Regions from separate parts of the Homo sapiens genome. Here all the other regions are linked to region 3. The links are contacts of gene promoters, found by promoter capture Hi-C in human tissues and cell types (Jung and others, 2019). All regions are on one chromosome and are shown on one strand. The core of a region is centred on a gene start or on the middle of the fragment in contact, and the rest is flanking DNA. Distances in the headings are between cores, read along the strand shown.

The links. The method cuts DNA at HindIII sites, captures the fragments that hold promoters and counts their contacts. A contact is called where the count stands out against the background at its distance.
Region 1: a contact is called between the fragment with the promoter of RASSF7 here and the fragment with the promoter of PKP3 in region 3, in 1 of the 25 tissues and cell types used here (pancreas).
Region 2: a fragment that was not itself captured here is called in contact with the fragment with the promoter of PKP3 in region 3 in 4 of the 25 tissues and cell types used here (H1 embryonic stem cells, adrenal gland, aorta and 1 more).
Region 4: a fragment that was not itself captured here is called in contact with the fragment with the promoter of PKP3 in region 3 in 9 of the 25 tissues and cell types used here (H1 embryonic stem cells, aorta, bladder and 6 more).

The regions. Positions count from the first base shown.
Region 1 is chr11:559,374-562,219 of GRCh38, reverse strand. It overlaps RASSF7 (Ras association domain family member 7), which reads right to left and starts at 1,250. Exons shown (of 6, transcript NM_003475.4): 1 at 743-1,250; 2 at 328-458; 3 at 1-141. The coding sequence starts at 451. LMNTD2 (lamin tail domain containing 2) reads left to right here and starts at 1,482. Exons shown (of 14, transcript NM_173573.3): 1 at 1,482-1,537. The coding sequence starts at 1,504. LMNTD2-AS1 (LMNTD2 antisense RNA 1) reads right to left here. Exons shown (of 2, transcript NR_147607.1): 1 at 2,744-2,846; 2 at 2,114-2,441. RefSeq lists an enhancer at 1-447. The HindIII fragment of the contact is 35,948 bases long and covers 1-2,846 here.
Region 2 is chr11:251,580-254,462 of GRCh38, reverse strand. PSMD13 (proteasome 26S subunit, non-ATPase 13) reads right to left here. Exons shown (of 13, transcript NM_002817.4): 11 at 2,837-2,883; 12 at 2,527-2,643; 13 at 1,479-1,958. The coding sequence ends at 1,863. It also overlaps the pseudogene COX8BP. Among named protein-coding and RNA genes, the nearest start is that of PSMD13, 16 kb to the right of the region's middle. The HindIII fragment of the contact is 4,358 bases long and covers 1-2,883 here.
Region 3 is chr11:392,813-396,022 of GRCh38, reverse strand. It overlaps PKP3 (plakophilin 3), which reads right to left and starts at 1,814. Exons shown (of 13, transcript NM_007183.4): 1 at 1,499-1,814. The coding sequence starts at 1,730. RefSeq lists an enhancer at 1,599-2,361. The HindIII fragment of the contact is 50,700 bases long and covers 1-3,210 here.
Region 4 is chr11:213,233-216,420 of GRCh38, reverse strand. RIC8A (RIC8 guanine nucleotide exchange factor A) reads right to left here. Exons shown (of 10, transcript NM_001286134.2): 9 at 3,003-3,122; 10 at 1,308-2,191. The coding sequence ends at 2,071. SIRT3 (sirtuin 3) reads left to right here. Exons shown (of 7, transcript NM_012239.6): 7 at 1-1,391. Among named protein-coding and RNA genes, the nearest start is that of MIR6743, 5.5 kb to the right of the region's middle. The HindIII fragment of the contact is 6,100 bases long and covers 1-3,188 here.

The sequences.
Region 1 (2,846 bases), core at 1-2,500, 170 kb before region 3:
GCCCTGTGCGCCTCAGGACAAACTGGACATCGCTGGCAAACTGTCCGCAGGTGGCCTGGGCGCCCACTGGACACTCTTGTGGCAGCAACTGCCGCTCCTTCTCCCGAAGCCGCTGCACAAGCACAAAGCGGCCAGTCTGGCCTGGGAAGAAGAGGAGAAGGTCAGCCTATGTCCCCCCGACTCTCTGTCCACCTGGCTTGAAGAGTTGGGAAGAACAAAAAGGATCAGCAACCAGCCCCACTCTCCTTGGGGGAGACCATGGAGCTGGACCACCAGGTCCCACTTCAGCTCTACCTGCCCGGCCTGCCTGACCCCGAGAGGACTCACCTATTGCTTGGGCTAGTGCGATGACCACTTCCTGGCAGGTGGTCTGCTCTGAGACCCCACAGACCACACGCTGGATGCCATCCACCCACACCTTCAGCTCCATGGCCGCCAGTCCCAACAACATGCCTGTCCTGTGGGGAGGGCGCAGGCACCGGGTCAGGACCTGCCTACTCCTATCGCAGGCTGGTCCTCCTCTCCTCATCCTCTTGGCCTGCCCTAGAAACGGCTGGGCTGCCGCCCCTCCGCACGGGCCCCACCCTCCTGTGCCAGCCCCACCCGCCAGCCACACATTCCTGGGGTGGCGGCCCTCCGGAGCACGCATCCTCCCCCACTTCACCAGCTTCCTCTTGCCACGCTCGCACTCCCGGAACAAGGCGAATCATTAACCAGATCCAGCATTTCCTACTCGCCTCACCTGGCTCGGAGGACACTGCCCCCTCCCCGGGCGGCGCGGAGGCGCCCGCACGCCAGGCCCCGCGGCCGCCGGCATGGGAACGCCCCACCCCGACCTGCTCAGGCCGCAGAGGCGCTCGGGGTCGCAACCCAGACCTCGACCCTGCAGATGGAGCAGACTCCGGGTCTGAGCAGCCCCCGCCAGCCCGGGGAGCCCCGCCGCTGCCGCCTAATCGCTGCGCTCGCCCCGAAAGTCCCGGTCCCCGCCGCGGGCACCGAAGCCCGCGCCGCGACCCCAGCCTGGCGGGAGCCAGGGCGTCCCCGTTCCGCAGGGCGGGCGCAGGTGCGGCGCCGCCCCCGCTCTCCGTCCGGGCATCGCGGAAAACTCTCCCCAGTTGGAGTCGGCGTCCGGCCGGCTCGAGGCGCGCCCCGCGCTCCCAAGTACCGGGGACCCGGCGCGGCTCACCTGGGCGCTCGCCAGCCTGGAGACCCGCTCCGGCGCCGCCGCAACCTGCCGCCCCCAGCGCCGCGGCGCACCCGGGCCCCGCGCCCCCATTGGCCCGCGGTCCGCACGCCCCGCCCCTAGCACCCCTATTGGCTGCTCAGCGCGGGCGTTCCGCCCCCTCCCCGCGCCCATTGGCTGCCTCTGTCACGCCCCTCCCCGACCCATTGGCTCGTCGCCGCGCCCCGCCCCCCCCGAGACTACAGGTGTGGGCGGGTCGGAGGGGGGCGCCGAGCCGCAGTCCCCGCCCCCACCTCCCGCCTACCGCGAAAAACGCGGAAATGCGGTGGCTGCGGCCCGCGGGCAGGCGTCGGGGTAGGTGTCTGGCCCCGCTCCTGGGCCGACTTCCTCAGCAGCCTTCTAGTGTGGCGGGTTCCCGCCCAGGAAGGGTCTCTGGCTTGAGATCCCGCAACCCCCGCCTGCGTCCAGGGGCAGCGGGGCCAGCCCCTCCCCTCGCTTCCCGGGCCAGCCTTTGGGGCCTACCGCAGCTGCAGTAGTCTGGACGCGCAGGGGTCGCGGGGTCGCAGGGTCACCAGTCCCGGCGAGGGAGGTGGAGCCCTGCGGAGCTGGCGGGCGCAGAGTCCTGGTGCGGGAGGTGCCCGCTCAGAAGGCCCGGACTCTAGCTGAGGCTCTTCTCCGACACCTTCCTGCCCCTTTTGGACCCAGTGCCAGGCCATGCACACAGTGAAGCTGGCTGGAAGCCGCTCCTTCACCCCCTACCCTACTGTCCCGCCCAGGGCCCCGCAGCCTCGCGGTCAGCTGTGTGGGCCATTGATTGTTCTGCCCAGCTCAGAAAGAGTTGTGGGCGTGGGCCTCCTGCCCGCCTGTCTCCTGTGCTCCCCCAGGGAGCCCTTACATAGCCGAAAGTTGCAGAGATGAAGGGTGAAAGCTGGAATGATTGGGTTTTAATGGGTCAGGTCTGGGACCTGGCTTTTCTCCTGGAGCAGAGGGAATACTTGTCATGGTAATGGGGTAGCCCAGAGGGTGTGGACACGGCTGGGAAAAGTGAGGCTTCAGTTTGGGGGTCAGGTAGGTGAGTGCCTGTCACTGAGGTCAAAGGAGCTGTGGGCTGGGCCTGGCGGTGGAGGCGGGTGCCTGTAGTTTCAGCAAGTCAGGAGGCGGAAGTGGGAGGATCACCTGAGCCCAGGAATTCGAGGTTAACGTGCGCTGTCATCACACCGAAGCATTCCAGCCTGGACAGCGGAGCAAGACCCTGTCTCTAAAGAATTAATTATTAATTTAAAAACAGGCTGTGGGCAGGAGTGTACTATTGCCAGTTAGCGTTCAGCACAGTCCCCAGCTTGTCACTGTTACCTGTCTGCTTCCCCCACACACCCATGGCTATGCTGGGCTGGCTCACAGGCAGCAGTGCCCCCCTATTTATCCCGCTGCTGCTGCCAGGCTAGGTAGGGGATGCTGGGGCCTCCCTCAGGGTGTTGGTCACTAAGTGGTCCCCCCGCTAAGCTGAGCAGTGGCTCAGCCTCTCACACCTCCTCCAGGCTGGGCTGGCCCAGAACTCACCTAGGGGCCTGGTCTGGGGTCTCCCTGGAGGCTCCTGGTAACAAACAGCCCCACCCCTTCTGGGTGCTGGTATCCATGGCAACGGTATACAGCCCTTCCCTCC
Region 2 (2,883 bases), core at 236-2,735, 140 kb after region 3:
CTACTCAGAGGGCTGAGGCAGAATTGTTTGAACCCAGGAGGTAGAGGTTGCAGTGAGCGGAGATGGTGCCATTGCACTCCAGCCTGGGCAACAAGAGTGAAACTCCGTCTCAAAAATAAAAAAATGAAAAAAAAGTAAATAAATATCTTTTAAATAATTTTAAAATTATTTTTTCCAGAAATATATTTTCAGAATTTTGATTTTTCGGGATTTCAGCATGCAGAATTGTGTCTCTCTGGGCTGTGATCAGCTCATGTCTGGGATGAGGCAGGAGCCTTGGTGGGGTGCAGGGAGAGCAGATGAGGGTAGGAGCAGGACCAGCAAGGCAGGCAGTGGTCAGAGCACTCAGGCCTTGGGGGTGAGTGAAGCCTGTTGGAGGATGCTGAGCAGCGGCAGCAACAAGACCTGATTGTTCTGGAAGACTGTCTGGGCTGCTGTGTGGAGGAGCGGTTATGGAGGACAGGTTTGAGGCTGGACTTAGGGAGGGTGGGGAGTCAGCGGGCTCGATGTACACATGAGTGTCTGAGGGAAATGGAGGCTCACACTAAGACATTTGGCCTGAGCAGCTGAGAGGGGCTGCGGAAGGTTGAAGGGTGCACCACAGGGCCTTGGGAACTTGACAGTGAGGTGGGTATAAAGGCTAGTGGTCAATAGATCCCAGCAATTGTGACTGACGAGGAACAGCTGGGGTGTCAGGCCATCTGGACCAGGGCCAAACGAGGTCTGGAGAGGGTGGGTGGAAAGACCGAGAGGGGTCTGGGGCCATGAGGTCAGGCGAGGCCTGGACGAGGTGGAAAAAACCAGGAGCTCAGACACCAGCAACCAAAGAGGAAAAGGCTGGAGAAGATGCCGGACAACTGTTCTTTGCCAGCCTAGCAGACTTGTGGGTGCTTTCCTCCAACAGGAGCAGGCCGTGGGGCTCTCACATTCATCAGCTTCCTGGTTCCTGGAGGCTGGGTCTCACCCGACCTGGAGAGCTGCAAGAGCTCCATGCTGTCACTGCAGGCCCAGGACTGAAAGATCACATTAAACTGTCCTTCCACCTAATGTTCACTCTGTGATTCTTTGTGTACGTGCACCTCCACTCCCAGACGGGGAACCTCAAGGTGGTTTCCTTTACATGCCCAGTCCCAGGGATGGCTCATGTCCGCACTGGGGCACACCAGGTCACAGATGCTGGTGGCTATTTGAATGATGAGTGGTGACAAGGATGTGGATGGATGCCTGTGTCGGGGCAGGTACCTGAGAGGGCTGGAGAAGGGAGTGGATACCCCTAGGTCTCTCTTGACTAACAATAAAGATAGGACCAGCGTCTTCGTTAGTCCTTGGTGCTGGATTCTGCCCGTCTACTGTATGTGCAGGGAGGAGAAGGGCCAAGGCTACCCCCACCGTGTCTTCCCAAGGTTCCAACTCATGCTTTTTAACCTCCAGGCACAGGCTTGGCCTGGAAGCTAAGCCCAAGAAAACAGAGCCACAAGAAGAACAAAGCAGAGGGGTTTATTATAGGAACATTCTCAAACCGCAACGGAAAAGATGTCCGTACAGGTGGATGGGGATGGAGATCCACCTCGGAGTACACAGACTTCAGGGGGCCTCCTGCCTGGCACGTTCTTTCTCTCCCGTATCACCTAAGACCCTGAGACCCCCACCCTCTGCAGGAGAGACCCACAAAGAAGCCTCCTCCCTGTGGCCTGGCTCCCATCAGGGACAGTCCTGTTTTTAGAGCAAGAACAGTCTGTACTTCAGACAGGATCCCAACCCCCACCCAAATTCAATGTCGACCGTCTGAGCAGCCAGCTTCATTGGCTGCAAACGCCTCTCTCAGGTGAGTCAAAGGAGACACGACGGGGAACCAGGGGGCCCTAGGTGAGGATGTCATGGGCCTGGTGCTCCACCAGCATCTCCATGCTCTTCACATCCGTGCACCAGAACTCCAGGCGGTCCTTCATTCCCTTGATCTGAAATGGAAATCCGGACACAAGGGACGTTAAGACACGCAGGAGACACAGGCCGAGCGGCCGGCACAGCACCTGATGGGGTGACTCTACATCTCCAGCTAACTCTCTAGGGCAGCTCTAGTAAAAAGGACCTCTGAGCTGGGGGAGTGGGACGGGACTTGCCGGGTTAATTCTTTTCACAGGAACGTTAGAAAAAACTTGCATGAAAGAAAGCAGACAAGGACAGAGGAAATCCACAGGATCGCATTTCCAGCAAATGTAAGAGCGACGTGAGCTCAAATCACAGAACCAGGAACGTATCTGATCAGAGCTCCTATCTTAAGATTAAAAGGCACCGTCAGCACAACCAGTGCCATTGTCATCATAAGCTTTTAAATGCAGGGTTCAAACCCTAGGCTTGCATTAAATTAGGCTCTTAGAAAAACCCAACAGCAGTATTTCCTTCTCCAAAACCTCTTGTCTAATAATGCTGTCTTCCCAAATGGCTTCCATCCAAATGAAACTAAGACGGTATAGACACAACCCCTCAAAATCCACAGAGGTGAATAATGGGTTTCAAACACATCACCTGTTGCAAATCCAACACTCGGGGCTGCACCCAGGTCATGTGGACTCGTTTGTCCACCTCGTCTATACTGCCTTTCACCAGCCCCACCGAAAGGGCCTTCATCACCAGAAGCTCCACCTGTGCAGAGAGGGAGGCGTGTGTAAGACAAGATAGCCTGACACACCCCCATGGACCCAGATGGCTTGTGAGAAGCAGATGCCGCTCCTCCCGTCATTTTTTACTGTCTAGGGAGCACAGCGCTCACACAAGAGCCTTGACTCCTCCATGTGGCAGCTTTGCTGCTCTAACACCCTGAGCCTAGGGACCGTACCTCATTCACTGTGATTTTAGCACTTTTGGCAATTTCTTCAAAAGTGA
Region 3 (3,210 bases), core at 565-3,064:
GACAGGTGGGTGGGCAGAGGGTGGAGGGCGGAGGGTGGATGGAGGGACAGGCAGGAGGAGGATGGGAGGGCTGCTGTGACTGCTGGAAGGATGGACAGAGTGGTGGATGGAGGGGTGGGACAGCCGTCGACGACAGGGTCCCATGGTTGGATGGTGAGTGGGCAGAGGGATGGACTCGTGGATGGGTGCAGAGAGGATGGGCTGATGGTGGGGGCATGAGAAGGCCCACCAGAGCGACCTGGCTGAGGGGCTCAGGGTGGGGTGCAGGGAAAGGGGCCGTGGCCCTCCCACAACTCTGCCCAGAGCTGGATGCTCTGTGGGGGACACCCCCATGGCAGAGGCCCCAGGTTCACCCTGGTTAATGGGGCTTCTGGGCCGGGGCTATTAACCCTCTGACGCTCGTGAGGCCCAGCCCGGAGTGGGGGCACGCCCCAGCCTGGGGACCTCACCCCCACCCCCCAATTATAATCCACCTCCCTCTAATTGGCAGGGCAGCCAGGGTGGTAATTAACCCTTCCCTCACCGTCCTCCACCCCATGACCCCTGGGCACCCGACTTGGTCACCAGCAAGGCTGAGGCCCCTGGAGGGAGGACCCCACAGTCCAGGCCGCCGGGCCGGCCCCTCCGCTGGGCGACCTTCACTTCCCCCTGGCCAGTGGCTGGAGGCCAGTCCTGGGGAAGGCCCCTCTAAACACCAAGTGGACCATGATGAACTGGCATCTGGGTCCCTGGCATTCTGGGAGGTCCATCTTACTGTCTAACCTTAATCCCTGTTGCTGTAGCCTGGGAAGGAGGAAATGGCGTTCCTAGAACCACTGCCTTCAACTCACAGCGTCTGTGCTCCTGTCACTCACACTCACACGCATGCACACACACTCGCGTGAGTGGGGCCAGGATTCCGCCACAGGTGGGTCTGGCTGGCACCGAGGGGTGCTCCTCCACCTGCTGTTCCCACAGAGAAATCTAGGTCACTCCAGCCGGGCCCTCCCCTCTAATTCCTCAGGGAGCCCCTGGTCCAGACAGGCCTGGCTTTCCTCCAGGACTTCCAGCACCCCCACACCTCTCCCCGCTTTCCCGTTCTGCTCATTCCCGTGAGGTATGGGAGGAGCGTGGGTGTCTGGGTGTCCCTGAGACCCTATGTGAGTCTGTGCTACCGGGGCCAGGCGCGTGCGTGTTCCGGGTTTGCCGACCGAGTGGCCTGGCCCGCCTGCCATGTGCCAACCTTCCCTGTCATCCCCCACAGGGATGGCTCCAGGACTCCAGGCACAGGTGGGGCCTGGCCAGGCTCAGTCTTTGGAGGACCCCGGGGTCCCTGCTTGGACAGGGCAGCCCCACCCATGGCTTCTCCCCACGCCCCTGGGGCGGGGTGTGTGACTCAGTGTGAGGCCTGGTGAGTCAGGAGCCGGCCTCACTGCGGCCTCTGCCCTCACACTATCACGTCCGCCCGCAGCCACCTCTCCCCGCCACCGCCATCCCCGCCGCTGTCCCCACCGCCTACCTCTGGCAGTCTCGGCCTCAGGCTCGGGCTCAGCGGCCCCGTTGTGCCGCGGCTGCTGTCCCAGCTGCAAGAGGCGGGCGCGGACCTGCTCCTGGACGCGGGCTGCCCGCAGCCGCTCGGCCTCCGGCCCCTCGGCGCCCCGGCGGTCCAGCTGCAGGTCAGAGGGCAGCGCCAGGGAGCACACGCCGGCCTCAGGCTGCAGGGCCGACAGCAGGAAGTTACCGTCCTGCATGGCGGCAGGTCCACCGGGCCTGGGCCTGGCGGCCGCCTCCAAACCCAACTATCTTCACGTCCTGTCCCTCGAGGCCCTCTCCCTGAAGTCCCCGCCCAGCCAGCCTCACCCAGAGCCGCCTGAAGACAGACGCCTGCCCAGCCCTGAGCGCAGCTGGGGGCGGGGACACCTGGCCAGGTGGGAGGGAGGGGCCGCCGCCTGCTTAAGGTGGAATTTGGGCGGAAGAACAGGCCCTGCATGGCCCCAGGTCCCAGCCTGGCCTCCCGCCTCCTTTTCTCCCATCCCACAACAGGGCCACGGGGACCTGGGTCCTTCTTGTTCTCAGCCTGTAAAGGCCAGACCGGGCCCTTTGTCGTGGGGCTGGGACAGAGGGGCCCTCTGTGTCCTGAGTGTCAGGGAAGGGCAGGGGGCCTGCGGGGGGCCTATGTCCTGCCACCCCCAGCATGAAGGGGAGGGTGCCCCAGTCCCTGGGGGTCTAGGGCCCTAGGTAGCTCCAAGAATCAGCCAGCCTCCATGGTAGCCCAGCCTTCCTGGTGAGGTGGGGATGAGGCCTAGGAAGGGTTGGCAGGAGACACTGTCGGGAGTCAGGGGTCAGTGCCAGGGATCAGGACAAAGGCTGGAGGGACAGAGCTTTAGGGTCCAACGGGACTCCATGGAGGCCCTGGCCCTGGTCCTTGGAATCCAGCGAGCCCCCTCCGCACCAGGAAGCATGTGGATGGACCGGCCCTCCCCCGAAGCCTGCAGACCCTGGAACTCACCCCCAGGACCCCCTCACCCCCTACAGAGGCCTCCAAAACCCTCTCTGGCTTCTGGGACCCTGGCACCACTGCTCCTGCACCCCAGGCCCTGGGGTGGGAGGCCGTTCCCAGCACATGAGTCAGGGTGCAGGGGGGCGGGGCCGCCCCAGGGGGTTGACTCAGAGGGCCTGCACTCCTGTCAGCGCATGTCAGGCTGGGGCAGGAGCGGGTGTGCAGGGAAGAACCAGGGGTCTGGAAGAGCAGAGGCCTGGATGGAGAGGGAGCGAGGGTGGGGGGCCCCTGGTGGGGGTGGGGTAGTGGGGGGCCCCTGGTGGGGGGGCCCTGGACCAAGCAGGGCTTGTGCCCAGAAGGTCTCCTTCTAGCACCACAGCCAGCAAATGGGCTCTGAGGCCCTCTAGCCTCTGGGACAAGCCCCTGGTAGATGGGGGTGGGGATAAGCCTAGGAGGGCTGGGGGTGGGAGCTGAACATCTATGACAACCTCTGGGCTTCTCTCACGAGCTCATCGGACAGCCTCTGCTTCTCCCTGGACCCTGGACCCTGGCTCTGGGCTCTCCTCCAGGGCAGACCCTTGCCCCCTAGCTCCGTCCCTGGAAGATTTTTGCCTTAATGGGGCTGGGGCAGGGGTCTGGCGTGAGGGCCGGGTCAGGGTTAGGAGGCAGCATTAAGGGTGAGGTCAGTTCTGAGGGGAGGAAGCTGGAGAGTAGGAGTCGGAGGTCAGCGT
Region 4 (3,188 bases), core at 215-2,714, 180 kb after region 3:
AAAAGCTTTCTTCTGACTGTGACCCTCTTGAACTGAATCAGACCAACTGGAATCCCAGACCGAGTCTGCTTTCTGTGCCTAGTTGAACGGCAAGCTCGGCATCTGTTGGTTACAAGATCCAGACTTGGGCCGAGCGGTCCCCAGCCCTCTTCATGTTCCGAAGTGTAGTCTTGAGGCCCTGGTGCCGCACTTCTAGCATGTTGGTCTCCTTTAGTGGGGCTATTTTTAATGAGAGAAAATCTGTTCTTTCCAGCATGAAATACATTTAGTCTCCTCAAAGGGACTGCAGGTGTTGACATGAGTTGGAAAGGGAACCCTGGGATACGTGGCGTCCCCTCTATTGGAACAGTCTGAGGACTGAAGGCATTTGTCCCTGGATTTATTGGAGACGGCCCAGCTCCTCCCTCTGAAGGTGGTCACATTCTGTTGACTCTCCATACTCAGCCTCTCCTCCAGAAACAGATCTGTTCCAGAACATTCCAGCACTTTCTATCTGGCCTCCTTGTCCCCACACTACGCCCCCCCACCCTCGCCAGGGCTTCCTCTAGTGACACTGTTAGAGCTAATCTCTGAGACAGGGAAGGCATTACTCACTTAAAACCCAGGCTGAGTCCTGGCCACCTGCTGGATTGTGACATAGGAGGTGGAATCCACTGAACTGCTACTTCTGCACAGGCTCCTTCTCCTGGGGCTGTACCCAGGCCCAGCCCTGATGGCTCACCCTGTCAGGCACCAGCTGCTCCCTCCTGGGCTCTCACCCACCTGCACATCCTCCTTCCTAGCATCACATTACCTGCGTGTTTCCCCAGACAAAAGCACTTCCCATTCTTGAACCTTGCCTACCCTGGGCTGAGCTGACGGCAATAGATTTAATGACAGTGACTCCCAGGAAGGGGGTCCTGTGACTTTGCGCCTTAATAAGAACAAAAGGTGGAATTGGTGACCTAGGAAAACTGTTGAATTCTAAAAAGAATGAAGTTAGTTTCTAACCCTAGTTAATGTTCCTTTTTTATTTTTTGAGTCTTGCCCTGTCACTCAGGGTGGAGTGCGGTGTTATGATCTCAGCTCACTGCAACTTCCGCCTCCCGGGTTTAAGCGATTCTCCTGGGTAGCTGGGATTACAGGTGTGTCCCACCACACCTAGCACATGGGCATATTTGTAATAGAGACAAGGTTTTGCTATGTTGGCCAGGCTGGTCTCGAACTCCTGGCTTCAAGTGATCCACCCACCTCGGCCTCCCAAAGTGCTGGGATTACAGGCATGAGCCACTGTGCCTGGCCCCTTTATTTGATAATTTACACATACATTTTTGTCCAAAACTCTTCTTTATTTCAAGATGATGTTTCTGTGGCTATGTGTGGTATGTGGTATAAATCTCAATCTATGGTCACACGAGGGGCATTTTCCTTGTTGTAAGTGTAGTCTAAACCAGTAGGAAGGAGGTTTAATTGCCAAAACCAGCGAGAACTCGGGCACTGTGGATACTACAGTGGGCAGCTGAACGAGGACCAAGGAGAATGTCTAAGAGGCCTCCAGCCCTGCGCTCAGTGAAGACAGGACAGGAACAACAGAGCATACATACCTTGGAAGGGTGTGTTCTGATATACTCGTATGGAAAGTTCTGACAGGTTTTCTCCCTGGGAAGTGCAGCACATACCCCAACACACTGGCTCTGCCAGTGTGCCAATCCCAGATGGTGCTTGCTTTGTGTGCACCCACACCCAAACCCCTGCCCTCCCATATGCTCTTCTGTGTGCCCAGGTAGGCCCTGCCCTCAGGCAGCAGCTTCTGAACACATTCCTCTTGGCGCAGACAAAAGAAAGTACTTCGTCTGTGGAATTCGAGGCTGAGCCTGAGTTCTAGCACAAGAAGACCGTTGCAGTCCAGAGATGAGAAACTGGACCAGAGGCAAATCATGAACAGAACGGGAGTCAAGAGAAGGGGTTTCTAAGATGGAGAAGTGGGGGCGGGTGTGGATCCAGTGGGATGTGGCTTCCCCAGGTTGCAACCCCAAGGAAGTCTCTGGAAGCAGCACCAGTCCTGATGGGGGAGCAGAAGAGCTGCCATCCTCAGTCAGGGTCCGAGTCAGGGTCCGAGGAGAGCTGCTGCTCCATAGTCTCGCACATGGCATCCTGCAGGGACGTAAGATGACCCCGGGGACTCATCCCCATTGGCTGGATGACTCTGTTCCTGTTGGGGAAAGGTGCAGTGGGGCTGGGGAAGGGGCCCAGTTGGCCAGGCAGGGGTCCTACTCACCCGTGGCTGCTACCTTCCTCTCTACCAAGTAGGCTGCTCCCATTTACTGGGGAAGCCTGGTTGGACCTTCTGTTAACTGGGCCCAAACCCTAACTGCTGCCTCCTGGCTTTAAGCAGTTTCCTATTTTAAACATCTAAATTGGCCTTAAGCAGGCTCTTAATTTGGACACTGGGCCATCTCCAATAAATCTGGCGACATTAGTCTCTTTTTTTTTTTTGAGACGAAGTCTCACTCTGTTGCCAGGCTGGAGTGCGGTGGCACAATGTCAGCTCACTGCAAGCTCTGCCTCCTGGGTTCAAGTGATTCCCCTGCCTCAACCTCCCGAGCAGCTGGGACTACAGGCGCCCACCACCACGCCCAGCTAACTTTTTTTTTGTATTTTAGCAGAGATGGGGTTTCACCATGTTGGCCAGGATGGTCTCGATCTCCTGACCTTGTGATCTACCTGCCTCAGTCTCCCAAAGTGCTGGGATTATAGGCGTGAGCTACCACGCCCGGCCTTAGACAGTCTCTTAATTTCTCTGGGCCTCAGTTATCATCTGTAAAAGGGGCACAATACTGATCTCAATATACCCATCCCCTGGGGGATTTCCTCCAGGGCAAGTGATTTCAAACGTGAGCAATGCAACCTAATACCAGGATCCTAAGCTCTCCTCTGATCCTACCTCCTGGGGCTCACAAGACAGGATGTGGGTCAGCTCTCCCTTCTCCCAGCTGCAGGCCCCTCCTCCTCATGCCACACACCTGGAGAGCTTGTCAAACATGGTCACCAGCTTCATGGCCTCGTGCTCCTTCTGCTCCTCTGTCATGCCCTCCATAGGGTTAGGCGGCTTCTCCTCCACCCTCCCGGTCACAGGGTTTATGCTGTTTCCCAGTGGGTGGAATGTGGGGAATGCATTAGTGACTCTCCAGGACAGGAGGCAAGCCACC